Regions from separate parts of the Homo sapiens genome. Here all the other regions are linked to region 1. Evidence: promoter capture Hi-C in 16 types of primary human blood cells and fetal thymus (Javierre and others, 2016). All regions are on one chromosome and are shown on one strand. The core of a region is centred on a gene start or on the middle of the fragment in contact, and the rest is flanking DNA. Distances in the headings are between cores, read along the strand shown.

Region 1 (7,845 bases), core at 2,810-5,309:
CTCTTGTCACCCAGGCTGGAGTGCAGTGGCGCGATCTCGGCTCACCGCAACTTCCGCCTCCTGGGTTCAAGCAATTCTCCTGCCTCAGCCTCCTGAGTAGCTGGGATTACGGCATGCGCCACCAAGCCCAGCTAATTTTTGTATTTTTAGTAGAGATGGGGTTTCGCTATGTGGCCAGGCTGGTCTCGAACTCCTGACCTCAGGTTATCCACCTACCTCAGCCTCCCAAAGTGGTGGGATTACAGGCGTGAGCAACTGCACTTGGCAAGAAGATTAGTTTTCTCAACAAATTCTTACCTTTCATTGTAATTAATATTAGAAGTGAACATCTTTGAATTCCTCATATTGATTTGTGTCTCTCATACTGATGAATGGATAACAATCAGATTGACTGTGGGAATAGAAGTGATTTGTTTGAAGACCACTGCACCCTTAGGAAACAAATATATGAACTTACAGAAGGCTAAAAAATCTGTGATAATATTTGTGCTCATTTGTAATACAGGCATAGAAAAATGTATGTTAGAACTGAAAGAGAGCATCCAGCTTAATCCCTTAATTTTACAGAAGAGGACTCTGAGCCCAAAAATGAGTGGCTTCTTTAAGGTTATATAGATAATGAACATGAAACCCTGGTCTTAATGATCCCACGTTCAGTGTTGCTTTCACCAAAATGCAACCAAAATATTTTTAAATACTGCTGGAATTATATTTAAGCATATAGAAATGCCCATTTATTGACTGAAATCCAAACATTTCTTTTTTTTTTAATATTATCAGGCTTACTTCTTTGAGAAGTCCATATCATTTTTCTTGGTTCTCTAGTGGTGATATTAAATATCTTGGTTTTCAATTCAATATCACATTGAAAGTACTTCATTTATACTTTGTGTCCAATCAATGGATAATAGCTTTTTTGTCCACAAAGCATCTAATTTCTGTTTTAGATGATAAACTCCTGGACAGCAAGGACATTGACAATTTCCTATTTGGCACAGCTCATATAAAGTGCACTTTGGGACCCTGTTTAAAGAAAATGTCTTAACATGAAGGGCCACTTCTTTCAAGTTCTTATCTTATACAATGTCTTTGCACTCTGGGGCAACCCTGTGTCTGTGTTCTGTGTGGCATATACTCCCTGCGGGCATTTGCTAAGTGATAGTCATGATATGGTTTGGCTGCGTCCCCACCCAAATTTCATCCTTTTTTTTTTTTTTTTTTTGAGACAGAGTCTCACTCTGTTGCCCCAGCTGGAGTCCAGCAGCACAATCTCGGCTCACTGCAACCTCTGCCTCCCCAGGTTCAAGCAATTCTCCTGCCTCAGCCTCCCGAGTAGCTGGGATTACAGGCATGCACCACCACGCCCAGCTGATTTTTGTATTTTTAGTAGAGCTGGAGTTTCACCATGTTGGCCAGACTGGTCTCGAACTCCTGACCTCAGGTGACCCGCCTGCCTCGGCCTCCCAAAGTGCTGGGATTACAGGTGTGAGCCACCACACCTGGAACCAAATCTCATCTTGAATTGTAGTTCCCATAATCACCACGTGTGGTGTGAGGGACCTGATGGGAGGTAATTGAATCAGGGGGGTGATTACCCCCATGCTGTTCTCATGATAGTGAGTAAGTTCTCATGAGATCTGATGGTTTTATAAGGAGTTTTGCCTCTTTGCTTGGCACTTCTTCTTCCTGCTGCCATGTGAAGAAGGATGTGTTTGTCTCCCCTTCCACCATAATTGTAAGTTTCCTGAGGCCTCCCCAGCCATGCTGAACTGTGTGTCAATTAAGCCTCTTTCCTTTATAAATTACCCAGTCTTGGGTATGTCTTTATTAGCAGCATGAACTAATACAGTGAGTATAATAGGAATTATTATTCTAGTTCGGTTCCATCTATTTCCTTTTATGAAGCCTGCTCTTCTACAAACTAGCTGAAGAAGCTGATCACATGGAAGGTATTTCATTTTTATACAGTCTTTAAAGGTCTACTTTCAGTTCATCATAAAATACAACCTAGTTATGGAATCTGAAAATTGGAAGAAACACTGGAAAGCAATCTTTGTGGCTACCCTGGAAAAATATTTTAAATAAAAGTTTGACAATCCTCAACAACCTCCTTCAACAAGTAACATTGGTTACAACCACTAAAATTAGTTATTTTATATCTGGTATAAATCCTTATTATGGAAAAGGAATCCTGTGACTTATATTTATGTCTTCTATGGAAAGATTATTTAACAAAGTGTTACAGGTAGTATAGATCATGAATAGGTAGAAAAAGAATTTCTGTTTTCTTAAGATCTTTAAAGGCCAGGCATGGTGGCTCATGCCTGTAATTCTAGCACTTTGGTAGGCCGAGATGGGTGGATCACTTGAGGCCAGGAGTTTGAGACCACCCTGGGCAACATGGTGAAACCCCCTCTCTACTAAAAATACACAAATTAGCCAGGTGCGGTGGCGTGGGCCTGTGGTCCCAGCTACTAGAAAGCCTAAGGTGGGAGGACCGTTTGAGACTGAGAAGTCAAGGCTGCAGTGAGCCCGGATCATGCCATTGCACTCCAGCCTGCATGACAAAGTGAGACTCTGTCTCAAAAAAAAAAAAAAAAAAGGATACAGCTAGGGACTAAATTAAGCCTTGCATTTGAATTCAGGAGCCACTCTTCTGGAAGCCAAGGCTTGTTACCCCCCACAACCCTCCCAAATTTTAGTCACTTCTATTGGGCAGGGGCAAGTAAAACCTGACAGACTGTCTTACAGCTTGCCTGGGAACATTTGTTTCCCTATTTACCCTTCAAAGTGAATCATTCCCAAGGTTGACTTTAATTAATTCTGATGTAATTCACTTCCTTTCACTTAATAATTATTAAAAATTTCAGGGCAGGGTGCAGTGGCTCACGCCTGTAATCGCAGCACTTTGGGGGCCCAGACAGGATGATTGCTTGAGCCCAGGAGTTTGAGACCAGCCTGGGCAACACAGTGAGACCCCATCTCTACAGAAAATTTAAAAATTAGCCAGGCGTGGTGGCGTGTGCCTCCCAACTACTTGGGGTGCTGAGATGGGAAGATTGCTTGAGTCCAGGGCTCAAGCCCCTCACTTGAGTCAAGGCTGCGGTGAGTTATGATCACGCCACTGCACTCCAGCCTGGAGGACAGTATGAGACCCTATTAAAAAGAAAAATAAAACAAAGAAACAGGACGAGAAAATACATATATGTTTCTTAAGGTAGTTATTGAAAGATTTTTTTAAAAAATTGAGACAGGGTCTTACTTTGTCACCAAGGCTGGAGTGCAGTGGCACAATCTGGGCTCACTGCAGCCTCGACTTTCCAGGCTCAAACCATCCTCCTGCCTTAGCCCTCCAAGTAGCTGGGATCACAGGCATGCACCACCACACCCAGCTAATTTTTGTATTTTTTGTAGAGTTAGGGTTTCGCCATGTTGCCCAGGCTGGTCTGGAACTCTTGGGCTCAAGCGATCTGCCCGCCTCAGCCTCCCAAAGTGCTGGAATTACAGGCATGATAAACTGCACCCAGCCCCATAATCTTTATAGCACTCCTTTACCAAAGAAGAATTACACTGAAAATTTAGATTTATAGGGATTATACTGTTAACATATAGCTGGCAGTCCTGAGCTGGAAGCTGTCTTGTCATTCAGGAAATTTCCTGGAGAAATAACCTTCCTGATTCCATATTCCTGGGGGCAACACAATTGAAGATGGAGGGCCAGAAGAAATACTCAAGTCAGAAAGCTGCACAGCATTCAGACAAAATCTGGTTGGAGAGGAAAGCTGTTTTCATAATTTAGCGAGCTTCCCCAGCTAGCCTGTAGGTGGGTGTGTTTAACAGAAGAAAGCAATGGGAACCCGCCTGTCAGCCAGCCTTTCGAGCTAATTAGCTCAGCATACAACAAAGATAAGTGAGCCTGGGAAGAGGGCCCCCTGAGGGGTCTTTAGATTCTGGGAAATGTCTGATTGGCAGATGTTAAAAGGGATTCCTTGGTAATCCAGTGCATCAATGAGCTGCAGAAATTCAGCCCAGGACTGCAAGAATTCAGGCATGAGGACACTCTGTACAGGAGGCTCACACAGGCAGACCCAAGATGGACAGAACCTTGGAATCTCTGAGACACATCATTGCCCAAGTCTTGCCTCACAGAGATCCGGCTCTAGTCTTCAAAGACTGTAAGTACTGAAGGGGGAAAAGTTTTTTGACTTTTTAGAAAATAGTCCTAAACGTCAAGTCACATCCTATTTAAGTAAGATTTCTCCTAAATCTCTGCAGTCGTATGCTGTGTTCTAAGTGATATTTTAACTTGTTCCTGACTTCAGCCAGAAGAACGATTTCATTTCACCTACAGGCATTAGGCACTGGGTTATTCTGTCAGTGATACATCTTGCTAACTACTTAGAAGTCTCTTCTACAATCCAAGACCTGCCTAAGACTTAATGAACTTTTTCTGATGCTTTTTAAGTAAAGCAAAGCTGACTGGTGTTGAGATTAAACCTAAAAATAATTTGGAAATGATACTAGAATATATCAATATTTGTTAACCTGTTTAATACTCCACAACACATATTAGCTATGTTAATTCAAGTATCGTGTTTGTCTGAAAATATTTGTTGCAAACCAGAATTAACAGTAAATCACCACTGAACTTTTAAATTTTGATAACAGATTATAATGCTTTAGTTAAAAGGCCAATAAAATGAGATGCCTCCTAACCTCAGCAACACTCCCTGTGTGGACCCCCTACCACCATCACCAATTTATACAGCATGGCAAAGTTATTTCAAAATCTTTTTTTTAATGATTTAAAAATAATTCAATCAAGATTTCCAATTCTAGCAATACTATTAAACCATTTGTCATATAACTTCGTTTCTGGAACCAATTTGATTTCCTGCTGCTGCAAAACAGACTATCTTCATGTTGTATCTTATCTACAGTGGGTTTCATATTACAAAGGGCTTCTGAAATAGAACTGCCCAAAAGGTAAAATGCATATGGAATTTTTTTTAACTTCAATAGGTTGCAGCTTTCCTCTTTGTGAATCTAGTTGTGTTTGTCTCCATCAAAACATCAATGGTTTGAATTTTTGCTTTCTGATTGCTGAATAACGTTCCATTCCAGATGTCCTCTTAGCTTAGATTTCTCATATGTATGTTGAAGAAAGAGGAATGTTAGGCCATTTAATTCTATAAATTTTTCCTCTTAGATGTTAAATTGTAACCAATCTGTCCTTTAAGGCATAAAGTGAAAGCCTTTTCTTTCTCTAGCTCTCTTTTTAAATATTGTCTTTAGGCATTTGCCAATAACTATGTTAGATCTAATAAAAATCACTCTCTCCACTACTCTAGCCTGGAGTCTATTCAGGTTTGTTATGTTTTTTAAGCGAAAAGGGGAGGAAAGAATGTCTCTCTCCTACAATAGAACTGATTCACTAGTGAGGGATAAAAGGGCTCTCGGGCTGCCCAAGCTTTGGATAAATTGTATAGGACCAGGGTTCTTATGCTGAGCATTTAAATAGGGGAAGCAGTTAAAAAAAAAATAGGGGGGACGTTTTTCACTGGCCCATTGAAAACTTAATAAGTTCAAATGTGAAACTGTATAGCTCATTTTTTAGCTGAACTAAATTGCTGCGATTGTTTACAGTTTAGAAAAGAAGATAGACTAGAAAAAGGATTACAATAAAGCATACATTAAGTTCTGTCATCCAGGACTTTGCAGGACTTCTTTTATATGGGAGAACAAATAAGTGTCCTGTTTTATATATTTCATTCATTAACATAGAACCTATATTTGACCAGAGAGCATTGCCTGTTTACCCTAGAATGGACTGCTACTCGGCAACTGCTTGCATGGCTTAATAGACGTGAATATTAAACTGCCGATTCTCTCCCTTCTTTTCTAATCTGAAAAATGACTAAATGACAGTAAGCCAAATGGCACATTTCTGTACCAGGAGTTTTCCTAACTTTAAAACATCCAACCACTTACCAATCTCGTGGAATAAGTGGGAATGGGCTGCTTACTTTCTGGGACAGGACATTAAAAGTCTGTCTGGAGCCTATGCCATTGCCCTGGCAAGCTGTAGGTGCTGCACACGCCAGAGTTTGGCATATGGTCCCATTTTCTTTGGCATACCCATAAGTTGCTGCCACCACACTCCTATTGGCAGCCTGTAAAAAGCTGCCACCAGCCTTGAATGGCAGGTTCTGAGCAGTCCCCTCTCCTCCTAGTCACTGCTGGCTCCTCCTCCACTCTAACCTGCTCCAAGCTCTTTCTGCCAGAAGGAAAGAGCTGAGCACTTGAGCACATCACTGCCAATTCCTTAAGAAAAATTGCTACCTTACTTTCCTACAAGATGAAAGCTGATCCAAGAATTTTTAAAACCCAGCCCAGTTGAACAAAAGAATAAACACACACAAACACACAAACACACACACATGCACACACAAAACACTTTTAAATTTTTTCTTAATTTATCTTCCATGAATGCAAACACAGTTTTTCTCTCTTCACTCTTTGGTTATACATAATCCAGGGAGTGTAAATGATCATGCAATTCATTTATTGCCCTCAGTTGGCTTTTGATTTGCTTAAAAACAAGCAATAGTAACTGAATTTTCTCTTCAAGTTGGTTAGAAAAAGCACCCAGAGAGTTTTCTGGTCTGAAACAGATGCACATGGGAATAGTTACATTCATTTAAAGAAATAAAATTCAAATGCTTTCTCAGATGAGGAAGCTCTTCAAATGGTATTTTGCAATACATTAAACCTGTCATTTTATTTTATACAAGGCGTTCATCTGGCAATAGTTGTGATTTGTTTCTTTTTTTATTTTCTCTTCTAGAAGGAAATAAATTCCATAACACTTTTTTCCTTTTCCCTATTTCACATTTCATATGAAAAATAATGGAAAGAGGTTTTAAATAAGATGGACTCCCAATTTGAAATTTGTTCATCTAAGCTGACACTGGACTGTTCTCCCCTGCATAAATGTCTCTATTTTAAAACAAGTAGCACTGGAAGTCTCCACACTACCAGGCAGAATCTCTGCAAAGTATAGCTTGTCTCCATATTGCTTTCCATTCTTGGCTTTGTGCAATATCCAATTTCGTTTCATGTGTCATGCATCACAACCAAAGCTGAGCTATCCTAAAAGCAGCCCCTGTCCACTCTTTTGAAGAAGTGTGTTAACTTACTATTCATTTGCCACTGTTTGACAATTCCTTGCGTACTTTCTCAAAAGAAATCACCACATGACTTCAAGATAGCTATGCTTTCAGATCCTAATCTGAGTGTTAACTCTTCATATTACAAGAGCACAATACATTTATCTGCCATCTTTGAGCTCTTTCTTCAACCATTTAATAGTAAGGCTAAGACATCAAGTCCTCATCATGTGATAGGCACTGTACTAGAAACATTTATTCTTCACAGTAAGCTAGTAATGTAGGTACAATTGTTGTTAGAGGTGAGGAAACTGAGGCACACAGAGGTTAAAATGACGTGCCCAAGGTCACTCAAGGTCACACAGCTAGTATGTGATAGAGCCAGGAATCAAATTCTGTCTTCCAACTCCTTACCTTGAAACACTATGAGACATTGCCTCTCAGAAGTGCTAGTTACCATGTCATTAGTGTTGTAATAGCAGTACAGGTTGAGTATGCCTTATCTGAAATGCTTGGGACCAGAAGTGTTGTAGATTTCAGATTATTTTTGGATTTCAGAATATTTGCATTATATATACTTTAGCACCCCAAATCTGAAAATCTGAAATCTGAAATGCTTCAATGAACATTTCCTTGGAGTCTCATGTCAGCAATTAAATGTTCTGGATTTTGGAAC
Region 2 (7,845 bases), core at 2,003-4,502, 120 kb after region 1:
TTCCTCTTGGCTATGTAGAGCTCCTCTACCCCACCACTGCCTGTTCTTCCTGTCAGGAGGCCCTACTTACTGCCCTACCTTCATCCATATGACACTCCTACTTCTGGGCCTTCATCACTACATATTAAAAAGGAAAAGTCTGACAAATAAATTCATATGAACGTAGAACCTAGAAGGTTTAATATGTGATTTTTTTTTTCTGAAATGCCTACATTTTTAAAATGACAGCTTGCACAAAGCAATGCCTTGGTCCTAAACTATGGAGTACCAATTGTGGTGTATAAGACAACATTCCAAGGGGAGGAAGACTTTTTGAGCAAGGAGTAGGAGGGGGCTGTGACTCCTGACATCTTGTAATCCCTTTTGGGCAAAGGATTTTCTGCTTGTCCATAAAGATAAAGCCCAGCACCTGTAGTCTCCTCACCACACTGTCCAACTTAGGCCTGGCCTGTAACAGAAGTGGGGAAAAGAGATCCCCTCAAAAATGAGCTCCTGACCAAGAGCACAGTGTTTGTATTCTTTTGGTTTCTGTATATCATATTCCTCGGTGATTTCATACCAGTAAAGCTTCCGCACATCCTCTGAGCTGGCAAGTGCTTCTAGTATTTTGTTCTTCTCTGCTTCAGAGCCTATAGAAATGTATTTGCCCAAAAGGAATGACCAGCCTTTGTCAGTTTTTGCTCCAACTTTGAACACAGTTGTCATGACATCAGTAGGTAGGCTGTAAGAGAGGTGGTCAAACATGAGAATAACAAGAAAATATTCTGAATACAAAGGCGAAGAGTTGGCTGTGGTGGAGTTTCTGGTGTGAGGGTTGGTAATAATAACAAGTTTGAGTACACAATTTAGGGTTGAGAAAAAGTTTAATTCAGTGACTGCTATCTTCCTAGTAGTGTGTCTATGGATACATCAGTTCAATTTAATATTCACAGAGTACTCACAAAGAACCAGGCAGGCGACTGGCTGGACACTAGGGAGCGGAAAAGGAATGAGAGCCTCTGTCCTCTGAGAACTCACAGGCTACTACGAAGTATAGAGCAATAACTATATGCATTACAATTCAGTGTGATAAGTTTCATGGTAGAACTATAGCAGTAAATGGGGTGCAGGGAGAAAACACAGTCTACTGCCTTTATTAAGATCTCAGAGCTGGGAAAGACCTCAAAACGTTATCCAAATCCTCCACCCCAACTCTTCATCTGATGCTTGAATCTTCTCTCCATAATGCACGGTAAGGAGCTGGAGAGAACTAATTACCCCCAAAAGCTTTTCTGTTAACTGCTAACTCTACCTGCTATGTTTTATTTCTAAATTAAGAGACTTGTTTATCACCTCACACCCATTAGGATGGCTGCTATCAAAAACCCAGAAAATGGCAAGTGTTGGCAAGGATGTAGAGAAATTGGAATGATGGTGCAGCTGCTGTAGAAAACAATATGGCAGTTCCTCAAAAAATTAAAATTAGAATTACCATATGATCCAGCAATACTACTTCCAGGTGTATTTCCAAAAGAATTGAAAGCAGGGTCTCTAGGAGATATTTGCACACCAATGTTCATGGCATTATTATTCACAATAGCTAAAAGGTACAAGCAGCACAAAGGTCTATCCAGGAATGAATGGATAAACAAAATGTGGTATATACATACAATGGAAAATTATTCAGCCTTTAAAAAGAAAGAAATTTTAGCCAGGTATGGTGGCTCATGCCTATAATCCCAGCACTTTGGGAGGCCTAGGTGGGCAGATTTTCTGAGGTCAGGAGTTCAAGACCAGCCTGGCTAACATGGTGAAACCCCGTCTCTACTAAATATACAAAAATTAGCCAGGTGTGGTGGCGGATGCCTGTAATCCCAGCTACTCCGGATACTGGGGCAGGAGAATCAATGGAACCCGAGAAGTGGAGGTTGCAATGAGCTGAGATCGCGCCACTGCACTCCAGCCTGGGTGACAGAGCAAGACTCCATCTCCAAAAAAAAGAAAAGAAAGAAAGAAAGAAATTTTAATGCATGCTACAACATGGAAGAACCTTGAAGACGTTATGGTAAATGAAATGAGCCAGTCACAAAAAAGCAAATTCTATATGACTTTACTTATATGAGATATACAGTGTAGTCAACCTCACAAAAACAGGAAGTAGAATAGTGGTTACCAGGGGCTGGTGGGGAGAGGGAGTGAGGAATTATTCAATGGGTACAGAGTTTCAGTTTTGCAAGATGTAAAAGTTCTGAAAATATAGTACACAATAATGTGAATATGCTTAACACTACTGAACTGTACAGTAAAAAATGGTTAAGACAGTAAATTTTATGTTATGTGTATTTTACCACAATTTTTTAAAAAGTCTTGTTTGACACCGCATGTTCTCACTCATAGGTGGGAATTGAACAATGAGAACACATGGACACAGGAAGGGGAACATCACACTCTGGGGACTGTTGTGGGGTGGGGGGAGGGGGGAGGGATAGCATTAGGAGATATACCTAATGCTAAATGACGAGTTAATGGGTGCAGCACACCAGCATGGCACATGTATACGTATGTAACTAACCTGCACATTGTGCACATGTACCCTAAAACTTAAAGTATAATAAAAAAAAAAAAAGTCTTGTTTGAGAATGCAGATACATAGAGTTCACCTACACTGACACTCAGTTTTATAACATTTATGATCCAGGATGAGAATACCCTGGATACTGTATATGATGTGAAATAAAGAAAAAGAAGATAATTCATCTGAGTAGAGGTATACTTCACCTTTGAGTTCCATTGGATGCCATCCAGTCATCAAACAGTTTCATGGCAGTAGTAGAGCAGTTCCCCAGGTTGTGGGTGCAAGCAAACTCTAGCAGGGCTGACCGAAGCTCTCGCATAGATGGAGTGCCCTCATCAGTCCAAGTTTGTTGTTGAATTTGGTTTTGAAGTAATTTAAATACCCTAGTCTAGAGAGACAAAATAGATTATAATGGCTTCATAATAATTAGGACAATCAGAAAAAAAACAGGACAATTACAGCCAGGTGCAGTGTCTCGTGCCTGTAATCCCAGCACGTTGGGAAGCTGGGGCGGGCAGATCACCTGAGGTCAGGAGTTTGAGACCATCCTGGCCAACACGGTGAAACGACATCTGTAGAAAATACAAAAATTAGGCAGGCATGATGGTCGTGCCTGTAATCCCAGCTACTCAGGAGGCTGAGGCAGGAGAAACACTTGAACCCAGGAGGTGGAGGTTGCAGTGAGCTGAGATAGCATCATTGCATGCCAGTCTGGGCAACAGAGCAAGACTCTGCCTCAAAAAAAAAAAAAAAAAAAAAAAAAACAAAAGACAAAAAACAAAAAAAACCCCAGGACAATTAGATCTCTTTTCCCCAACATTTATCCAATGAGGAAAAAAAAAGGCATAGATATTACTCATTAAATATCAACTGACATATGAAACCCACATACGGCTGGGATGAAACCATTCAATAATAAGGCTATGCATAAGGCTGCTATAGCTAAGGGGGACTTTTAGTGATGTTAACTCAGAAAAAAATTAATGACTTCTGTGCAGTAGGGAACCTTTATGCTGCATATACTCAGCTAGAAGTTATTTTCCTGCCAAAAAGTATCACTTATAACCACTGCTGGAAGGATGTCAGGACTTCCTGACCTTGTGACTTTACAATCTATAAACCTATAAAGCAATGAAAGAAAAATAAACTTCTTTATTGATAGTTAATGTTTAAATGTTTCTCAATCCAATATTAAAGGTATATTTAACATTATTAACTAGTTTGATGTTATAACAAATTAACCAAATTAGCAAGAAAATGAGACCTGCAGGGAAGAATAGTTGTTTATAGCTTATTTTTTCTCCTAAGTTTTTATTTAAAGAACTTTCAAACCTACAAAAAAAGATAGTACAACACCCATACACTGTTCATCTAGATTCAACAGTTTTTTAACACTCTGACACTTGCTTCATTTTCAAGTGTGTATAACACACATACGCACACATGTTTTTCTTGTTTTAGCTGAACAATATAAAAGTGATATACAGATACGATATTTCATTTATAAATACTTTGGCATGCAACTCACAGATATCAGAACATTCTCTTACAGAACCATAATACCTTATCACACTGAAGAAAACTAATAGTTATTCATTAATATCATCCAATCTAGTCCATTGGTATTGGCTGTCATTGCTAAACGTATACTTGCGGTATTAAGGTACTAACAGACGCCTTTTTCATCTCTCTCCAAAATAAAAACACCAAACCTGTTAATACCATGTCGAAGTATTTCCATTCTGCAAGTTGTGCATGGCGGGTGGGGGGTGAGGGCACATGATATTTTAAAAAGCATCATATGCAATATGCTTTTATGAATACCACTAGAAAGAATAAAAATTCTGATATAAAAAATGTTTTTAGGTATTCTTTTTTTTGTTTTTGAGATGGAGTCTTGCTCAGTTGCCCAGGCTGGAATGCAGTGGTGCGATCTCAGCTCACTGCAAGCTCTGCCTCCCAGGTTCACGTCATTCTCCTGCTTCAGCCTCCCGAGTAGCTGGGACTACAAGCGCCCGCCACCACATCCGGCTAATTTTTTTGTATTTTTAGTAGAGACAGGGTTTCACCATGTTAGTCAGGATGGCTCTATCTCCTGACCTCGTGATCCACCTGCCTCGGCCTCCCAAAGTGCTGGGATTACGGGCGTGAGCCACCATACCTGGCCGTTTTTAGGTATTCTTTAGAAAACCTTCATGGCTACATAAGAAGGACCAAAATGAAAAAAATTCAACAGATACCCCCTCTGAAGGAATAAGCACAGGAAGATTTCTTCCTGCTGGTACTTCTTTACCTCCACCACCATCGTGGCATCTCATCTCAAGTAATCATGTACCACAGATGACCACAAGCAAAACCCTTAACTTCAGAAGTTTAGCTCAAGTTCTTCACAGAACATTGCTTTCTTCCTTTCTTTTAGGTATTGACAGTGAGTACCACTGAGTACCACTGTCAATACCTAAAATGAATCCTATTTGGAAATTTTTAAACTATTAAGACCATTATCCTAGCAATGACTTACTGTGAATAAGCATCTTGTGGAGTTGAATATGAGAATAGAAAAAAAGAATCTGCAAGGAAAAGAACTCAAGGTTTGTATAACATGTCAACTCGCTTGTGTTTGTTTCAAAAGCAATGAAACACAGAACAGACACCTTGTGGAATGTGTAAGTGGTAAAGCTTTTGAGTCACTGGGAGGACATGAAGTAGAAAAATACTTGCTACGCTGACGATGCAAGGAACGGACAAGCAATGCAGGGGATCCCACTTGACATACCTAACTGCATTGTTATGTGGTGTCTTCACTGGCCTTACCTTCTCAATAGCATTATGATAGAAAACCATTCCAAATGACTGGAGAACAAAAGAAATTCAAATCCTACTCATAACTGTCAAATAGGAACAAATGAAGAATGTGAGAAAAAAAATCACATGCTTGAAATCTTATTTAAAAAAAAAATCAGTGAAGAACAATGGCAATACTCATTGAGAGTTTACTAAAACACAAAGGCAGCAATGGAAAGAATGGCACTTGAAGTCCTGGAAGCAAAGGAAATCTGACACTTGAAGATGGCTGTGGCTAATTCCTGAGCAGTTACACCACCGAATTACAGGGAGCAATTTTACTAGTTAGTCTCCATATGAAATCATTAAGGCAAGTTCTCAAAATAGTTGTTTAAATGTATTTCAAATTATAACATAATAAAGTAAAACATTTTAAGAAAGAATAATTATATTATTAGAAAAATCCTGTTACAAAATATCATTTTTATAAGTAATCCAGGTTTATTTTTAATATTAATTAATATTAATGAGGCATAGCATGTGCTTCAAATTACCTTTCCCTTTTAGAAATAAAATGAAATGTTTTTCTAAGGATCCAAATTAATTTTTTTGAAATTTAAGCTCTTTCAACAATAGAATGCAACTCTATGATTTTACAAAGTGAAATGGCAAGTGGAGAGAGGAAATAAATTGATGGGTTATACAAGCTACAAACACTGGATTTGTAATAAAATGCAATAACAACAATATAAAATTATTTTAAAAATAAAACAGGGAAAGATGCTAGCACTTATGTTGTATATTACATTTTGATTTACTGCTTTAATTTTACACTGATATGCCCAGGGAGTTCTTTCCTGGGTCAACTGAGTTTCTTAAAAGTGAAATGTCAGTTTTTATTGCAAAAGGTTTATCCCACCAATGCCTCATATGTAAAAGAATGACAGATTTGTAAGTGATAAAACAGGAATATGGCTAGGATCAGATGTTAACATCAGATGTGAACAATTTAACACAATTGAAATGTGCCTCCAGACCCTACCCATCACAACACTACAGCATCACAAAATGCAGCATATGTCATGTGCAGCCTACATAACAAAATGACCAATAAATGTACATAATGCTTTGGTTCCAATGATATAGAAGTTAATTAGAAATCAGTCTTAGACAGTAATACATTTGAACGTCATATCCAAGGATTCATAAATGTCTCCTATCCCAATTCCTAACTGTAGAATGTCAGATTTCCTAGTTTGAGAGTATTGATGCTACCAGAATTTTCACCCTAATATTAGAATAAGAATGTTAAAGTGACACATTCTCCCTCTTGGTGAGCTAAAGTTAACTGGGCTTTTAGCTAACCATGTGAAGACACACAGCAGTAAAAGGGCGTCCAATCTTGGAAACACATACTAAGTCTTCTGCCCTTCCTCTCTATCCATCAGTCCCTAGATCCCTCCTTGAAGTATGTTCCTAATAAACACATATCTGCCCAGAAAGCTGGAAATCATCTGGGATGAAGATGCAGTTCAAAGAAGAGGTAAGTATCAAGTGCTTCTTGAGCACTAAGCTATAAACAGAGTTAACAGAGAGGCAAGCAGAAGACTGACTTCTGCCATTATGAAGTTTAACTGGGCAGCTTCAGAGTCGGGAGATATTCTGCCTCCTCACAGGGTATATTCAGAACTAACATTGCCCTTTAATAGTGAAAAAAAGTGAGTGATATGCACTAATCTTATTTATTGCTACCTGTACTAGGTTGAATAGTATCCCCTCAAATTTTGTGTCTGCCTGGGACCTATGAATATGACCTCATTTAGGAATAGGGTCTTTGCAGGTACAATCAAGTTAAGATGAGGTCATACTGGATTATGGTGGGCCTTAATCTAAGAATGGGGCAATTTGGGCACAGAAACACAGGGAGAACACTGTGTTGACAGAGACAAAGGCCACGGTTAGTCACCTACATGCCCAGGAATACCAAGGATTACTGGCAATCACTTGAAGTTAGGAGAGGGGAATGGAACAGATTCTTCCTCAGAAGGAGCAAACCTTACTCTGCCAATACCTTGATTTTGGCCTTCTGGCTTCCAGAACTATGAGAGAATAAATTTCTGTTATTTTAAGACATCAAGTTTGCAATAACTTGTTTTAATAGCCCTAGAAAATTAATATACTACCCCAAATGGTGTTGATATCATACTAATTACCTCAAACATAATTCTATGCAATAAAATATACTGGTCCTGGGGATAACTGGATATCCATACTGAAAAGAATGAATCTTGGTGTCTACCTCACACCATCCACAAAAATCAATTCCAGATGGATCACAGATCTAAATGTAAAGGATAAAATGATAAAGTTTTCAGAAGAGAACAGAGAATATCTAGGGGTAGGAAAAGATTTCATAAGCTAGATTACATTAAAATTTAAAACTCATATTAATAAAAAATCATTAAGAGAGTAAAAAAAAGCAAGATGGAGTGGGAGAAGATATTTGC
Region 3 (7,845 bases), core at 1,514-4,013, 100 kb after region 1:
CTGCTCTTAAGGCAAGGACCCTGGAGAGGTCAAAGATCAGAATTCCTGCTCTGATTACTGAGGCTAGAGGGCAGTCATTGAAATAACTGAGGCAGGTGCCTGTCATGTAGAAGCCAATCAGACAAACAGTGCCATTTCCTGTGTGGCACATTTAATTGATTATGCTCTGGAACTTCACCTAGGGGCTTTCCACTCCAGGCAGCCAGACCCTCCTTTTATTGAAGTTTAGGTGTTAAGTCAAGACTCCCTGCATTACAAGTCTATCTTGAAACACTCTCTTTATTCTTACTTAGCCACACAGAGGAACTCAGACAAGAAAGCATTCTTGCAATTCAGGTTGAGGAGAGCCAAGCTCATTTATTGCTAATTAGAATTTAGGAGAAACCTGGAGTGAAACCGAAACAGGCAATTAATTTCCCACCTTCTCTCATTCACTTGGAACACCCGCAGGAATGTATACCTGTGTGGTTACTCAGTGCGGATCAAAAGCGCCTCTGGTTCCCAATCAGCGACACAGGGCATTCAACTTGGTACTTAAGCAGTGGTGAGAGGTCTCCACTTCTCACATTCCTCTGCACACTCCAACGAACAGAGGGAGACTCCTGGCTGAGGAATGCATGTCCCCCAGACCTGCCCCGCTCAAGATGGTGTGTTGCCATTGAAACAGGCTTTAACACCACCAGTTTCATAGCTTGAAACCTCCCCTGGCAACACCCTTCACTTCTGTTCCACATGAACCCCAATGCCCTTGACTGTCTACCACCCACCACGCAGGCTGTGTTTATAAAACCCAGGTGGCAATTTCCCGGCCTGAGCCAGCTACTCACATTAGAGTCAAGTCTCGGGTACCCACCGAGCTCAGGGCCTGATGCATAGTGGACAGATCACAATATTTGTTGAATAAATCATCCATAAAAATATTTTAAAAGTATGCCTTGGCTTTCCTCTTCCACCAGTTCAATTTATGGCTACTTTCTCTCACCCCAAGTCCAGATGGGGTCAGATATAAGCCAATTTTCTATTAGTGTGGAAAAACACAGCTAGGAAGAAAAATCTGTTGCCAATCTAGACAGGCAGATAAAGATTTCTAAGAACATTTGTTTGAAATAAATAGTTGATAAACTGCTTGTTTGTGGGAAGGGGTAAGACTCCAGGGAGCATGTCCAAATAGCAAAAGGCCTCCAAACCTTGGGGCCAGCTGCTCACTACAGGCCATTAGTTTTGTGGAGCTTTTGATGTGCTTGGCCAAACATGTCTGGATGTAGATGCTGAGACACTGGGATGTCTAGGGGCAAGAGTGACAGGTCAGCAAGGCCTGGGTGTGTGTGTATGTGTAATTTGGGTGAGGAGCACACAAAAACATCCCCCAGAAATGGCAACGTAAAGGAGAGGCTCTGGAGAACAGAAATACAAGTGAGGATGACACTGTTACAGCATGTGAGAGTAACTTCCCTTGTAGACTCTCCTCTGGGTACTACCTTGGAGAAAACCTATATTGCTCGGCAGTGCTTTGGCTTTAGTGCATTTTGTGGAAAGGAATCTTGAAGAGGTGCTAAGTTCCAAGTCTAGGTTTGCTCAAGGCAAAAAAGAGACTACAGACATGCATGCGGGGCTGAAGAGGACCAACTACATTCAGGTTATGCCTCCTCCATAAAGCAAGTGAAATCAATGGTTTTAAAATTGTTTAATATTGCCTCTTTTCCCATGCCTGTAGACTTCCTTAAGTTCCTGTCCTTCTGGCAACAGAAGGGGGTCTGTTGAAAAATAGGAAAGACGCTGGGCGTGGTGGCTCAGGCCTGTAATCCCAGCACTTTGGGAGGCTGAGGTGGGAGGATCACTTGAGTTCAGGAGTTCAAGACCAGCCTGGGCAGCATAGAGAGACCACTGTCTTTATACAAAATTTTAAAAAGTTAGCCAGGCATGGTAGCACACACCTGTGGTCCCAGCTACTCGGGAGGCTGAGATGGGAGAATAGTTTGAGCCCAGGAGGTCGAGACTGCAGTGAGCCATTATCATGCCATTGCACGCCAGCCTGGGTGGCAGAGTGAGACCCTGTTTTTTTTTTTTTTTTAAAAAAAAGGAAAAGAAAAACAAGAAAAATAGGAAAGGATGTCAGTCTGCTCTCAAAGTCCAGGGTTCTGTGGCTGAGGACTGAAGGCCTTATCTCGGGCTGATTTCAAACTACAGTCATGCATTGCTTGCTGATTTCATCATGGTGCAAACAACACAAATCTTGATGGTTTAGCCTACTACACACCTAGGCTATATGGTATAGCCTATTGCTTCGCTCCTAGGCTACAAACCTGTATAGCATGTGACTGTACTGAATACCATAGGCAACTATAACACAATGGTATTTGTGCATCTAAATACATCTAAACATAGAAAAGGTACAGTAAAAACAGCGTAAAAAAAGATTTTTAAAATGGCGCAGCTGTGTAGAACACTTACCATGCATGGAGTTTGCAGGATTGGAAGTTGCTCTGGGTGAGTCAGTGAGTGAATGTGAAGGCCTAGGACATTACTGTACCCTACTGTAGGCTTTATAAACACTGTACACTTAGGCTACACTAAGCTTATAAAAGAATTTTTCTTTCTTCAATAATAAATTAACCTTACCTTGATGTAAACTTTTTAATCGTTTAAAATGTTTTGATTCATTTGTAATAACACAGTTTAAACACACACTACAGCTGTACAAAATAATTTTCTTTATATCTTATTCTATGTTTTATATTTAAAATTTATTTTTAAACTTTTTTTGTTAAAAACTAAGACAAAACCAAACACATTAGCCTAGGCCTACACGGGGTCAGGATCATCAAGATGTCACAAGGCAATGGGTATTTTTCAGCTCCATTATAGCCTTATGGGACCATCATTGTGGCACATGACTGTACTTCAGGAAAATGGTTCATTTTCACCTTCTACCTGTAGTCGGCGAAGCTTAACGTTTATATTCTTTTCATTCAGCTCATCAACCATTATGGCAGCTGTTACTTTACCAATGCTAACCACCCTCCGTCCTTCCTGAGATTCCCTTTGGTGGTGAGTGTCTGAACCTTCTGACATTAGTATCTTCCACCTGAGAGAGATTACTTCAATGTAATTCACTTCATTTAAACATTAAAAAAAATGCTACTCTTTTGAGATCATGTTATTTGAATCATTCACAGCATCATTAAATGTAAAAGTGAAAACATTAGGATAGTTTAATTTAGCTCTGCACTCAACATTAATGAAACACCTCTTTCAACAGCAAACTCGAATACTCTCTTCTCCAAAGAAGCAGTATCCCGCAGGCAATTGCACATCATTTGTCTCAAAAATGATGCATATAAACTGTGTCTAATCTAAAAACATATACAAATTTAACATATAATGTTATATCATGTGGGATTTTAGCTCAAGCATAACTTCTAATGCCCTTAATCTGTAAAAGGAGGAAATTTAGACTAGGTCATGTGGAAGAAGTTTTCCTTCTAGCACTAATAATCCCAGGTCCTAAAGTATTTGGCCAATTTCTCTCCATCATGCCATCTAATGCATAAGTTGCAAACAATTTTTTTTCTAGCTAGAATAGAGACTTAGGCATGCTTGATTCATTTGCATGCTTAGGCAAATAAACTGAGAGAAGGAAAGGAGTATTTGTGGAGCACCTACGAAGGACCAGGTGTATTTTCCTATATACCTGTTCTTCATGTTATTACTGCAAAGTAGATATGCTTTGCAGATTAGTCAAGAGTCAGGATTTTGTTTTGTGTCTACTTTTAATTAACCAAATTCAGTGACAGCCAGAATTAACTTCAGTTGTAAAACCTATATAACCACATTTTTTCTAATATAATGCCTCTCAAATAAAATCTTTGCATATTTAAGGCTTAAATAAAAAGCATATTAGACTAAAATTATTTTTGTAATTTCCTAACTGGCAAGTTATATACCTTATTCAATTTTAAAAACTCATATCCATCTGTAGCTGAAGATATTAATATCCATACACCTCATTAAGCGCTGAGAGTTTTAACAATGACAGTTGATAATTACTCTGCCTGGGCCCGGCAATATACTAAACAATTTATAGGTTCTTTTATTTAATGCTAACAACCCTGCAAGGTAGGTAGGTAGGCACTATCTCAGTTTTATAAATGGAGGAAACTGAGGCAAACAGGAATTAGTAACAACTCTCTAAGTGGAAAATGATTGAACCAGAAATCAATTCTAGTTCTGACTGATACCAGCCTAATAGCCTTTCAAGTATTTAAATTTCTTGAAATTGTTACCTTTTGTTATGTGATAATAGTAATATTCCAATAATTTTGCTGAAGTTAAAAATTACAGAGGTCTTTGAGGAAAAAAAATGAAGACATAAACAGCCACTAAACCCATAGGGCAGCCCATGTTCAATCCTGCATGTAGGACCCAAAGATCTTTTCAGCTGCATTCACATAGAAGAGCAACAGCATCAGAAACTGCTGAACAAAAGAACTTTCAATTTCCCACATTTGGTTTGTACACAAATGACACTTTAATAAGCAACACACTGACAGCCCTAAATTGTCTTTCCTATGCTGAAGTGGCCTCTGGTATGTTCCCTGACTTCCTTTCAAACTATTACCTCCTGGTGCTGCCTGCTGGTCAACAGTTCAACTCTGATGACTGCTATTTTATTATCACATTAGGTTCTTCTTTTATAAACACAAATGGGAATAGGAAAGCAAGAATCAAACTTATTCTGTGTAAGCCAAGGTCCTGATTATTCAGCTCAGCCAACAACAGAAATTACAGGGGTACCCAAAGTGCATTTCAATTCAACTGGACTTTGGCCAGTTGAATGGAGGTCATCCATGAAGAGAAATGATAAAAGTAAACAAGCACAGAGCATTGGGAACATATCAATTATGGATCTAGTAGGTGGGTGAAATTAACGACTTAAAAGTATGTTTTTGCCCTCTAGCAGAAAACCACCTCTTTAAGCATGTAAGTCAACTGTTCAACTTGCACACAAGTTTTAGTAAACACCAGAGCCTTTGTGTGTGTGTTGGCGGTGGGGGGTCGGGGGGCTTTATGTAAGAACAGAAGAAGCAAAAAGAAGATACAACTGAATCATTCTTCTGTACCATGGGTTCTAAAAATAATTTAGAAAAATAGGTTATTGTTACTCTCCATCCAAAAAGTCTATCAGAATCAAAGTGTTCTTTACATTTATAATGGGTTTTAGTTCAATTGTTTACTGCTGGTATCTGTGAATTAAAAAGCACAAAAAATTTAACCAGAAGCTTCTGATCAAAACTTCACAATTTTAAGAACATTTCCCCTATATATTAGTAATGATCATTATAAGAGATTTTAAAAGGGCATGCATCAAGGTTTTGTGTCCTCAGAAATAGGATTTTGGGTATGGGAGTTAAGACTTACTTTGCCTTCAAACGCCCACCTAACAATTACTGTAAAAGAATACTTATTCTAGTTCATATATCTGGAAGCCTAAGAAATTCTCAGTTCTTCCTCAAGGCTACTCATGCAGACAGAACCAAGAAACTCCTTTTGTAGACCTGACCAGGAATGTAACCGTGGCAGTGTGCCTCTAAAAAGGTGCACTCATACTCCTACTTATATGTGAATCAACGCAAGGGGTATTTCCCTGATAACATCCAATGTCTCACCTTCAAAGTAAGACAGCGTTCCTTGGTTTCACTGGCATACGACACGTATGACATTTCTCACACTGATTTAGGTACTGTATGACTACTGCATCAGTTGGCTACTTAGGTGACCTGAGTGTTTACAAGAACTGCTTTAGTCCAAAAAGTAAATAATGGTCCTGATGGAGCTCCCGTGACTGTTAGCTATCCGCCCTATGCATCCACTCAAAGTTTTAACCCTAACCTCAGGGGACATTTGGCAATGTCTGGAGGAGAGGTTTTAGTTGTCACAGCTGGGGACAAGAGTTACTATTGGCAACTAGTTGCAATTGGCATGGGAGGGATCCTGCTAAATGTCCTATGATACACAGAACAGCCCCCACAACAAAGAATTAGCCACCTCCGAATGTCAAATGTCAACTGAGGTATATGCAATAAAGACACTGGATACTGGTGAAATAAAAAACTAACCACAGAAGACAATGAGTACAGGAGCTGCCCTGGTAGAGGTCATAACCTAAGAAGAGATACCACTTTATATATACATTAATCCAAAGAGTCCACACAATGTTTGTATTTAAATACTTTTATTTTCATTTCACAAAAAAAGCAACAGTGTTTGCAGCTACACATGCCTTTCAGTCAGTGCTGGTCATATGCAAAACAAGTTATCAGAAATATAAAGAAAAATAAGCCTTTTCCCTTTACAAGTGAAACAACACAATTTGCATATACAATATTATATATACATATTTTCAAAATGTTTCACAAAAGACAGATTATGATACAAATTTAGAATTCCACCCACAAGCTCAGACTCAAGGAATTGAAGATCTCTATAGGTGTTTAAATATAAAAATGTAATACCTTTACAAGTTTCCAAGTAACTACTTTCCAAAGTATTTGAAAGAGGCTATTCTTCACAGCAACATGGAACACTTGGCTTTAATCAAGACAGCTGTAAAACTAAGTTTTGTCTCAATGTGAGTTTGTTGATTAATGCAAATGCTCCAATTATGCCATAATTCTCATTTTATATACACATACATACACAGCGTATTATTGTACTGATGGTTTACACAGTCCAATTTCTGGAGCATTTCCTTCAGCTAAGCCATGACCTTTACTTCCTTTGAAGTATTTTAAATTAAGAACTGTTCAGAAATATCACTAATGACTACCATGACTAACTCCAAAAAGGTGCCCTTTTTTCTTTTATTTATGATCAAATGTAAATGTGTCATGAATAAACTTATTTTTTTCTATGGCAGCAGGTATAAGTAATAGCAAAGTATAGGCTACTTTTTCAACACTAGAATCTGAGAGTTTGATATACAGTATGTAACATTTCTTTGCAAATTTTCTAGGAGTTCTATCACTCAATGTTTCCAAAATAGTAATATGGCAAATCTTCAGCATGGAGTAGTAGTATCAGAAATGGGAAAACAAACAATGCTAAGAGGCCTGAAGGAAGGGAGGAGAGCAGAGAGGGAGGGAGGGAGGATGTGTGCCCATGCATTTTCCCTGATGCAGACAAATGTGGAGTTTTAACATTTACCATATGGTAGATGAGGAGACAGTGTGATATAAGAATGCTTAAAGCGAACATACAGGTCTGGATACATGATATGCACACAAAATACAAGGCTAATGAGGCAGCAATGGCTTAAATTTGTGAATGCCAGTGAAGAAAACACCTAACAGTATAGGCACTAAAGACAAAATGGAAAGCACACAATGGAGAACGGAGGAGAAAGATGCAGTCACACAAAAGACCTCTGGGTAAGAAAGGGCCAACTTGTCTTGCCACATGTGGGGGATGAAAGATAGAAAATTCCTTTTGGATTTAGTTTTGGGGCTCATGTTCTATTCATCAGAGCCATGTCAATAACTCGAAAGGGTCATTCCAAGACACAATTTCTACCAGGTACACAAGCTATGCAATTGATGGAATCATAATAGACTTCTATAGATGAATCAGAAGTCCAGGCCTCAAAAAGAAGCTACTCTTAACGGTTTGCAAATGCGTTCTAGACAGCACTCTTATTGGCTTATCAGCTTCGCCGGTTTACCAGTTACTAAAAGATATATGAGCAATGAAGTTTAAACACAGCTTTATTCAATATTGTCCTCTTGCCTTTCTAGAATTTACAAAAGCACAGGTCCCTTTTCACTACCTCATTCAATCTGAATCAACATA
Region 4 (7,845 bases), core at 1,484-3,983, 85 kb after region 1:
TCAGTGGGAAAGCTTACAGCCTGGGACAAGGTCTGAGCAGGGCATTAGAGGAGTAAGACCAGACTCACCAACTGCATGACAGCTGGGTGAGGCCTTTCACTACTGGCTATCCCCTACTTCCCTGGCAAACTATATGACACAGAAGAGGCAGCCATAATCCCCTCTGCAACACAACACCATTGGCCTGAGAACCACCCCCTATCCCACACAGCAGCCATGGCAATCCCCACCCAAGGACAGTCTAAGCCCAGACCCATGTAACCCTGCCCCAACCTGATATTTTTTCTCTACCAACCCTGGTAGCCGAACACAAAAGATAGAAACTCTTGGGAACTTTATGGCCCCACCCATCACCTGAGAAACCAGAATACTTACCCTGGCCAACTTAGGGCAAGCTTACATCTCCCTACTACTACCACAGCTGGTGTTGTCTTGAAAGTGCCACCGCCTGGCTGGAGGCAAACCAACTCAGGCCATTCCAGCAACACATGACATAATAACCCTGCTCACGGGAAGGAGAAAACAACAGCTAATTCCACCACTTGCAACATTCTGGCTAACTAGAGGTCCTGAGTCTGTCCATGTGACAATGTCACTACTAGCATAACCAGCATTTAAGAAAGTCAGCACACTAAACATATCTACAACCAAGGACTCTCACAGAGTCTAATTCACTCCCTTGACACATCCACCAGAGCAGGTGTTGGTATCCATGGCTGGGAGATATGAAGATGGATCACATCACAGGACTCTTTGCAGACATTCCCCAGCACCAGCCTGGAGCCTTGTAGCCCCACTGGGTGGCTAGATTCAGAAGAACAATGACAATTACTGCAGTCTGGCTCTCAGGAAGCTCCTTCCCTAATGGAAGTGGGAGTGCACTACATCAAGGGATCATCCCATAGCACAAAAGAATCTGAACAGCAGGCCTTGGGTTCCATATCTTTCCACTGAAATAGTCTACCTAAATGAGACAGAACCAGAAAACTAATTCCGATAATATAACAAAACGAGGTTTTATAACACTCACAAAAGATCACACTAGCTCCCTGGCAATGGATCTAAACCCAAAAGAAATCTCTGAATTGCCAGATAAGGAATTCAGAAGGTTGATTATCAAGTTACTCAAGGAGGCAGCAGAGAAAGTTGAAAACCAACTTAAAGAAATTTTAAAATCAAGATAGGGATGAAAAATTCTCCAGAGAAATAGATATCATAAAGAAAAACAATCAAACCTTCTGGAAACGAAAGACACACTTAGAGAAATACAAAATGCGCTGGAAAGTTTCAATAGATTAGAACAAGTAGAAGAAAGAAATTCAGAGTTTGAAGAAAAGGCTTTCAAATTATCCCAATCAGAGAAAGACAGAGAAAAAAGAATAAAAAAACAATAAATAACATCTCCAATAAATTTTGAATTGTGTTAAATGGCCAAACTGAATAATAATTGGCGTTCCTGAGGAAGAAGAGAAATCTAAAAGTTTGGAAGACTTAGTTGAGGAAATAATCAAGGAAAACTTCCCTGGTCTTGTGAGAGATCTAGACATCCAAATACGGGAAGCTCAAAGAACACTTGGGAAATTCATCACAAAAAGATCATCACCTAGGCACATAGTCATCAGGTTATCTAAAGTCAAGACAAAGGAAAGAATCTTAAGGGCCATGAGACAAAAGCATTGGGCAACCTATAAAGGAAAACCTATCAATCAGATTAACAGCAGATTTCTCAGCTGAAGCCTTACAAGCCAGAAAGGATCAAGGCCCTATCTTTAGCCTATCGAAACAAAATAATTGTCAACCAAGAATATTGAATTATCCAGCAAAACTAGGCTTCATTAATGAAGGAAAGGTAAAGTATTTTCAGACAAACAAATGCTGAGGGAATTCACCACCACCAAGCCAGCATTACAAGAAATGCTAAAAGGAGTTCTTGAAACAAAACTTCAAAATACCACAAAATAGGACCTCCTTAAAGCATAAATCTTACAGGGCTCATAAAAGAATAACACAGTGGGAAAAAAAGTATTTGGGCAACAACTAGCATGATGAATAGAACAGTACCTCACATCTCAATAATAATGTTGAATGTAAATGGTCTAAATGCTCCACTTAAAAGATACCGAATGGCAGAATGAATAAAAATTCACCAACCAAGTACCTGCTGCCTTTAAGAGACTCACCTGACACATAAGGACTTACATAAAGGTAAAGGGGTGGAAAAAGGTATTCCATGCAAATGGAAACCAAAAACGAGCAGGAGTGGCACTTTTTATATCAGACAAAACAGACTTTAAAGCAACAATAGTTAAAAAAAAAAAAAGACAAAGAGAAACATTATATAATGATAAAAGGATTAGTCCAACAGGAAAATATCACAATTCTAAATATATATGCACCTAACACTGCAGCTCCCAAATTTATGAAACAATTACTATTAGACATAAAAAATGAGATAGACAGCAATGCAATAATAGTGGGGGATTTCAATACTCCACTGACAGCACTAGACAGGTCATCAAGACAGAAAATCAACAAAGAAACAATGGATTTAATCTATACCCTATAATAAATGGGCTTAACAGTTCTGCCTGTTTCCAGATGAGCGAGGAGACTCATAGTCTTGTTCTTGGACTTCCCCAGCAGCATGGCCCCCAAACGCCAGTCTCCACTCCTGCCTCAAAAGAAGAAACCAAGACCACCTCCTGCTCTGGGACTGGAGGTTCTTGGACTTCCCTAGCAGCATGGCCTCCAAATGCCAGTCTCCACTCCTCCCTCAAAAGAAGAAACCAAGACCACTTCCTGCTCTGGGACCGGAGAAGACATCAGCCTCTGCAGGCTTGCCGAAGAAGGGAGAAAAAGAACAGCAAGAAACAATTGAACACATTCATGAAGTACAAAATGAAATGGACAGACTTAATGAACAAGCCAGTGAGGAGATTTGAAAGTAGAACAGAAATATAACAAACTCTGCCAACCATTTTTTTCAGAAGAGGTCAGAATTGATCTCCAAAATCCCAGATTTTTGGGTAACAATATTTGTCAATCATCCAGAAGTGTCTGCACTGCCTGGGGAGGAGGACGAAGAGGCACTGCATTATTTGACCAGAGTTGAAATGACAGACTTTGATGATATTAAATCAGGTTACAGAATAGATTTTTATTTTGATGAAAATCCTTACTTTGAAAATAACATTCTCGCCAAAGAATTTCATCTGAATGAGAGTGGTGATCCATCTTCAAAGTCCACCGAAATCAAATGGAAATATGGAAAGGATTTGATGAAACGTTCAAGTCAAACGCAGAATAAAGCTCACAGGAAGAGGCAGCATGAGGAACCAGAGAGCTTCTTTACCTGGTTTACTGACCATTCTGATGTTGGTGCTGATGAGTTAGGAGAGGTCATCAAAGATATTTGGCCAAATCCATTACAGTACTACTTGGTTCCTGATATGGATAATGAAGAAGGAGAAGGAGAAGAAGATGACGATGATGATGAAGAGGAGGAAGGATTAGAAGATATTGATGAAGAAGGGGATGAGGATGAAGGTGAAGAAGATGAAGATGAAGGGGAGAAAGGAGAGGAGGATGAAGGAGAAAATGACTAATAGAACACTGATGGATTCCAACCTTCCTTTTTTTAAAATTTTCTCCAGTCCCTGGGAGCAAGTTGCAGTCTTTTTTCCCCCCCTCTTGTGCTCATTCACCCTGTTCTTGAGGTCTCTGTTCTCTAAACCATGGCTCTCAACTTATTTTGGGGGAAATAACTTGAGCATAATACAATGGGAAAAGAGTCTCTACCCCTTTCTGTTCGAAATTCATTGTTATCCCTTCCTGTCTGAACAAAAACTGTATGGACTCGACACCACTGTGCTCTGTGGGAAAAAAAGAAAAACCTGTTCCCTTCGCACTGCTGGAAGCTGGAAGGTGCTAGGCCCTGTGTAGTAGTGCATAGAATTCTAGCTTTTTTCCTCTTTTCTCTGTATATTGGGCTCAAGAGAGTACACTGTGTCTCTATGTGAATATGGACAGTTGGCATTTACCAACATGTATCTGTCTGCTTTCTTTTGTTTAAAAAAAAAAGAATAAAAAACTTTAAAAAATGGGGTTATAGAAGGTCGGCAAAGGGTGGGTTTGAGATGTTTGGGTGGTTAAGTGGGCATTTTGACAACATGGCTTCTCCTTTGGCATGTTTAATTGTGATACTTGACAGACATCCTTGCAGTTTAAGATGATACTTTTAAAATAAATTCTCTCCTAATGATAACTTGAGCCCTGCCACTCAATGGGAGAATCAGAAGAACCTGTAGGATCTTATTTGGAATTGACATTCTCTATTGTAATTTTGTTCCTGTTCATTTTTAAATTTTCTTTTTATTTCACTGGAAAGGATAGATGATGCTCAGTTTTAAACGTTAAAAGTGTACAAATTGTTTTGTTACAATATTAAATGTGTACACAAAGGATTTGATGCTTTCCTCTCAGCCTAGGTATGCTTACTATAACCTTCCAAGTTTGACTTGTATAACATCACTGTCAAACTTTGTCACCCTAACTTCGTATTTTTTGATAAGCACTTTGCAGGATGACCTCAGGGCTATGTGGATTGAGTAATGGGATTTGAATCAATGTATTAATATCTCCATAGCTGAAAAATGTGGGTACAATTTGCCATTGGTTTCTGAAAGTATTCATATCATTTGGAATACCAGATTGCTCAATACTTTCTGAGTATATTGCGCCCTTGATTTTTATCTCCAAGTGGCAGTTTTTAAAATTAGCCTTTTACCAGGATATAAAATAATAGTGCCTGCCACCACTATCCAACATACCTGGTGCTCTAATGCCAAGTTATACATGAGACAGTTGCTGGCATGTCTTCATTGGCTATATAAAATGTGGCCAAGAATATAGGTTCTCAGAGTAAGAAGTCTGTGATGGTTAGCAGTAACTGTCCCTGCTCTCTGGTATAAAGCTCTCAAGTGTCATTATGTGAATCTGGGTGGGATAATGGACCCAGCTCTGTCTGCTCAATGCCATTGTGCAAAGAGGCACACCCTAATGCATAAGCTTTTTAATGCTGTAAAATATAGTAGCTGAAATTAAGTGCCACTTTTTCAGAGGTAAATTAATGGACAGTCTGGTGAAATTCAAAAGTTTTTTGATGTATAAGACTTGATAAATGGAACTATTCCATCAATAGGCAAAAGTGTAACAACCTATCTAGATGGATAGCATGTAATTTCTGCACAGGCCTATGTTTAATAAATACATCACTGTATACCGATCAGGAATCTTGCTCCAATGAAAGAACATAAAGATTAAAAAAATGTACTTAACAGATATTTACAGAACATTTTATCCAATAACTGAAGAACACACATTCTTTTCATCAGCACATGGAACATTCTCCAAGATAGACCATATGATAGATCACAAGACAAGTCTCAATAAATTTAAGAAAGTCAAAATTATATCAAGTATTTTCCCAAACCACAATGGAATAAAACTGGAAATTAACTCCAAAAGGAACCCAGAAAACTATATAAATACATGGAAATGAAATAATCTGCTCTTGAATGATCTTTGGGCCAACAATGAAATCAAGATGGAAATTTAAAAATTATTTGAACTGAACAATGTAACACAACTTATTGAAACCTATGGGATACAGCAAAAGTGGTGCCAAGAGGAAATTTCATAGCATTAAATGCCTACATGAAAATGTCTGAAAGAGCAAAAACAGACAATCTATCTCAAGGAACTAGAGAAGCAAGAACAAACCAAGCCCAAACCTAGCAGAAGAAAAGAAATAACTAAGATTAGAGTAGAACTAAATGAAATTGAAACAAAAAATACAAAAGATAAATGAAACAACAGGCTAGTTCTTTGAAAATATAAACAAAATTGATAGACCATTAGCAAGATTAACCAAGAAGAGAGAAGATCCAAACAAGCTCAGTTAGAAAAGAAATGGGAGATATTACAACCAATACCACAGAAACATAAAAGATCATTTCAAGCTACTATGAAAACCTTTATGTGCACAAACTAGAAAATCTACAGGAGGTGGACAAATTCCTGGAAATATACAACCCTCTTAGATTAAACGAGGAAGAAATAGAAACATTGAACAAAGCAGTAACAAGCAGTGAGATTGAAACAGTAATTTAAAAATTGCCAAGAAAAAAAAGTCCAGGGCCAGATGTATTCACAACTGAATTCTATCAGACATTCAAAGAGGAATTTGTACCAATCCTACTTAAACTATTCCAAAAGATAAGGAGGGAACCCTCCCTAAATCATTCCATGAAATCAGTATCACCCTAATACCAAAACTAGGAAAGAACGTAACAAAAAACAGAAAACTACAGACCAATATCCCTGATGAACATAGATGCAAAAATCCTCAACAAAATACTAGCTAACTGAATCCAACAGCATTTCCAAAAGATAATACTTCATGATCAAGATAATACATCATGATTAATTGATCATACATCAATTCATGCCAGGGATGCAGGGATGCAGGGATGGTTTAACATATGCAAGTCAATAAATGTGATACATCACATAAACATAATTAAAAACAATGATCATATGATCATCTCAATAGATGCAGAAAAGTCATTTGACAAAACCCAGCATCACTTTATTGTTAAAACCCTCAGCAAAATTGGTATAGAAGGGAAATACCTCAAGGTAATAAAAGCCATCTACGACAAACCCACAGCCAACATTATACTGAAAAGGGAAAAGTTAAAAGTATTCCCTCTGAGAACTGGAACAAGACAAGGATGCCCACTTTCACCACTTCTATTCAACATAGTGCTGGAAGTCCTAGCCAGAGCAAGCATATAAGAGAAAGAAATAAAGGGCATCCAAATCGCTAAAGAGGAAATCAAACTCTTGCTGTTCACCAATGATATGATTGTATACCTAGAAAACCCTAAAGACTCATCCACAAAGCTCCTAGATTTGATAAATGAATTCAGGAAAGTTTCATGATACAAGTAATCAATGTATTACACACAAATCAGTAGCACTGCTATACACCAACAATGACCCAGCTGATAATCGAATCAAGAACTAAATCCCTTTTACAACAGCTGCAAAAAAAATGAAATACTTAGAATATACATAACCAAGGAGGTAAAAGATCTCTACAAGGAAAACTACAAAACGCTGCTGAAAGAAATCATAAATGACACAAACAAATGGAAACACATCCCATACTCATGGATGGGTAGAATCAATATTGGGAAAACGACCATGCTGCCAAACGCAATCTACAGATTCAATGCAATTCCCATCAAAATACCATCACCATTCTTCACAGAACTAGAAAAAAATTCTAAAATTTATATGGAACAAAAAATAGCCTGTATAGCCAAAGCAAGACTAAGCCAAAAGAACAGATCGGAAGGCATCACATTACTTAACTTCAAACTATACTACAAGGTTATAGTTACCAAAACAGCATGGTACTGGCATGAAAATAAGCACATAGACCAATGGAACAGAATAGAGAACCCAGAAATAAAGCCAGATACTTCCAGCCAACTGATCTTTGACAGAGCAAACAAAAACATAAAGTGGGGAAAGGACACCTTATTCAACAAATGGTGCTGTGGTAATTGGCAAGCCACATGTAGAAGAATGAAACTGGATCCTCATCTCTCATCTTACAAAAATCAACTCAAGATGGACCAAAGTCTTAAATCTAAGACCTGAAACCATAAAAACTCTAGAAGATAAGATCAGAAAAACACTTCTAGATGTTGGCTTAAGCAAAGAGTTCATGACCAAGAACTCAAAAGCAAATGCAACAAAAACAAAAATAAGTAG

The links. Contacts are between HindIII fragments. The CHiCAGO score rates a contact against its expected background, and 5 or more counts as called.
Region 2: a fragment that was not itself captured here is called in contact with the fragment with the promoter of LIX1 in region 1 in 5 of 17 cell types (M1 macrophages, M0 macrophages, M2 macrophages and 2 more); the score reaches 10.5 in M1 macrophages.
Region 3: a fragment that was not itself captured here is called in contact with the fragment with the promoter of LIX1 in region 1 in 2 of 17 cell types (M1 macrophages and M0 macrophages); the score reaches 8.6 in M1 macrophages.
Region 4: a contact is called between a fragment that was not itself captured here and the fragment with the promoter of LIX1 in region 1, in 1 of 17 cell types (M1 macrophages). The highest score is 5.5, in M1 macrophages.

Annotation. Positions count from the first base shown.
Region 1 is chr5:97,138,825-97,146,669 of GRCh38, reverse strand. It overlaps LIX1 (limb and CNS expressed 1), which reads left to right and starts at 4,059. Exons shown (of 6, transcript NM_153234.5): 1 at 4,059-4,175. The coding sequence starts at 4,094. RefSeq lists an enhancer at 4,043-4,112. The HindIII fragment of the contact is 8,667 bases long and covers 1-5,472 here.
Region 2 is chr5:97,017,397-97,025,241 of GRCh38, reverse strand. It overlaps LNPEP (leucyl and cystinyl aminopeptidase), which reads right to left. Exons shown (of 18, transcript NM_005575.3): 14 at 2,758-2,942; 15 at 560-721. Among named protein-coding and RNA genes, the nearest start is that of LIX1-AS1, 52 kb to the left of the region's middle. The HindIII fragment of the contact is 3,967 bases long and covers 1,269-5,235 here.
Region 3 is chr5:97,035,884-97,043,728 of GRCh38, reverse strand. LNPEP (leucyl and cystinyl aminopeptidase) reads right to left here. Exons shown (of 18, transcript NM_005575.3): 18 at 6,216-7,845. Among named protein-coding and RNA genes, the nearest start is that of LIX1-AS1, 34 kb to the left of the region's middle. RefSeq lists a silencer at 2,338-2,538. The HindIII fragment of the contact is 371 bases long and covers 2,578-2,948 here.
Region 4 is chr5:97,052,158-97,060,002 of GRCh38, reverse strand. It overlaps the pseudogene SETP22. Among named protein-coding and RNA genes, the nearest start is that of LIX1-AS1, 18 kb to the left of the region's middle. The HindIII fragment of the contact is 4,672 bases long and covers 398-5,069 here.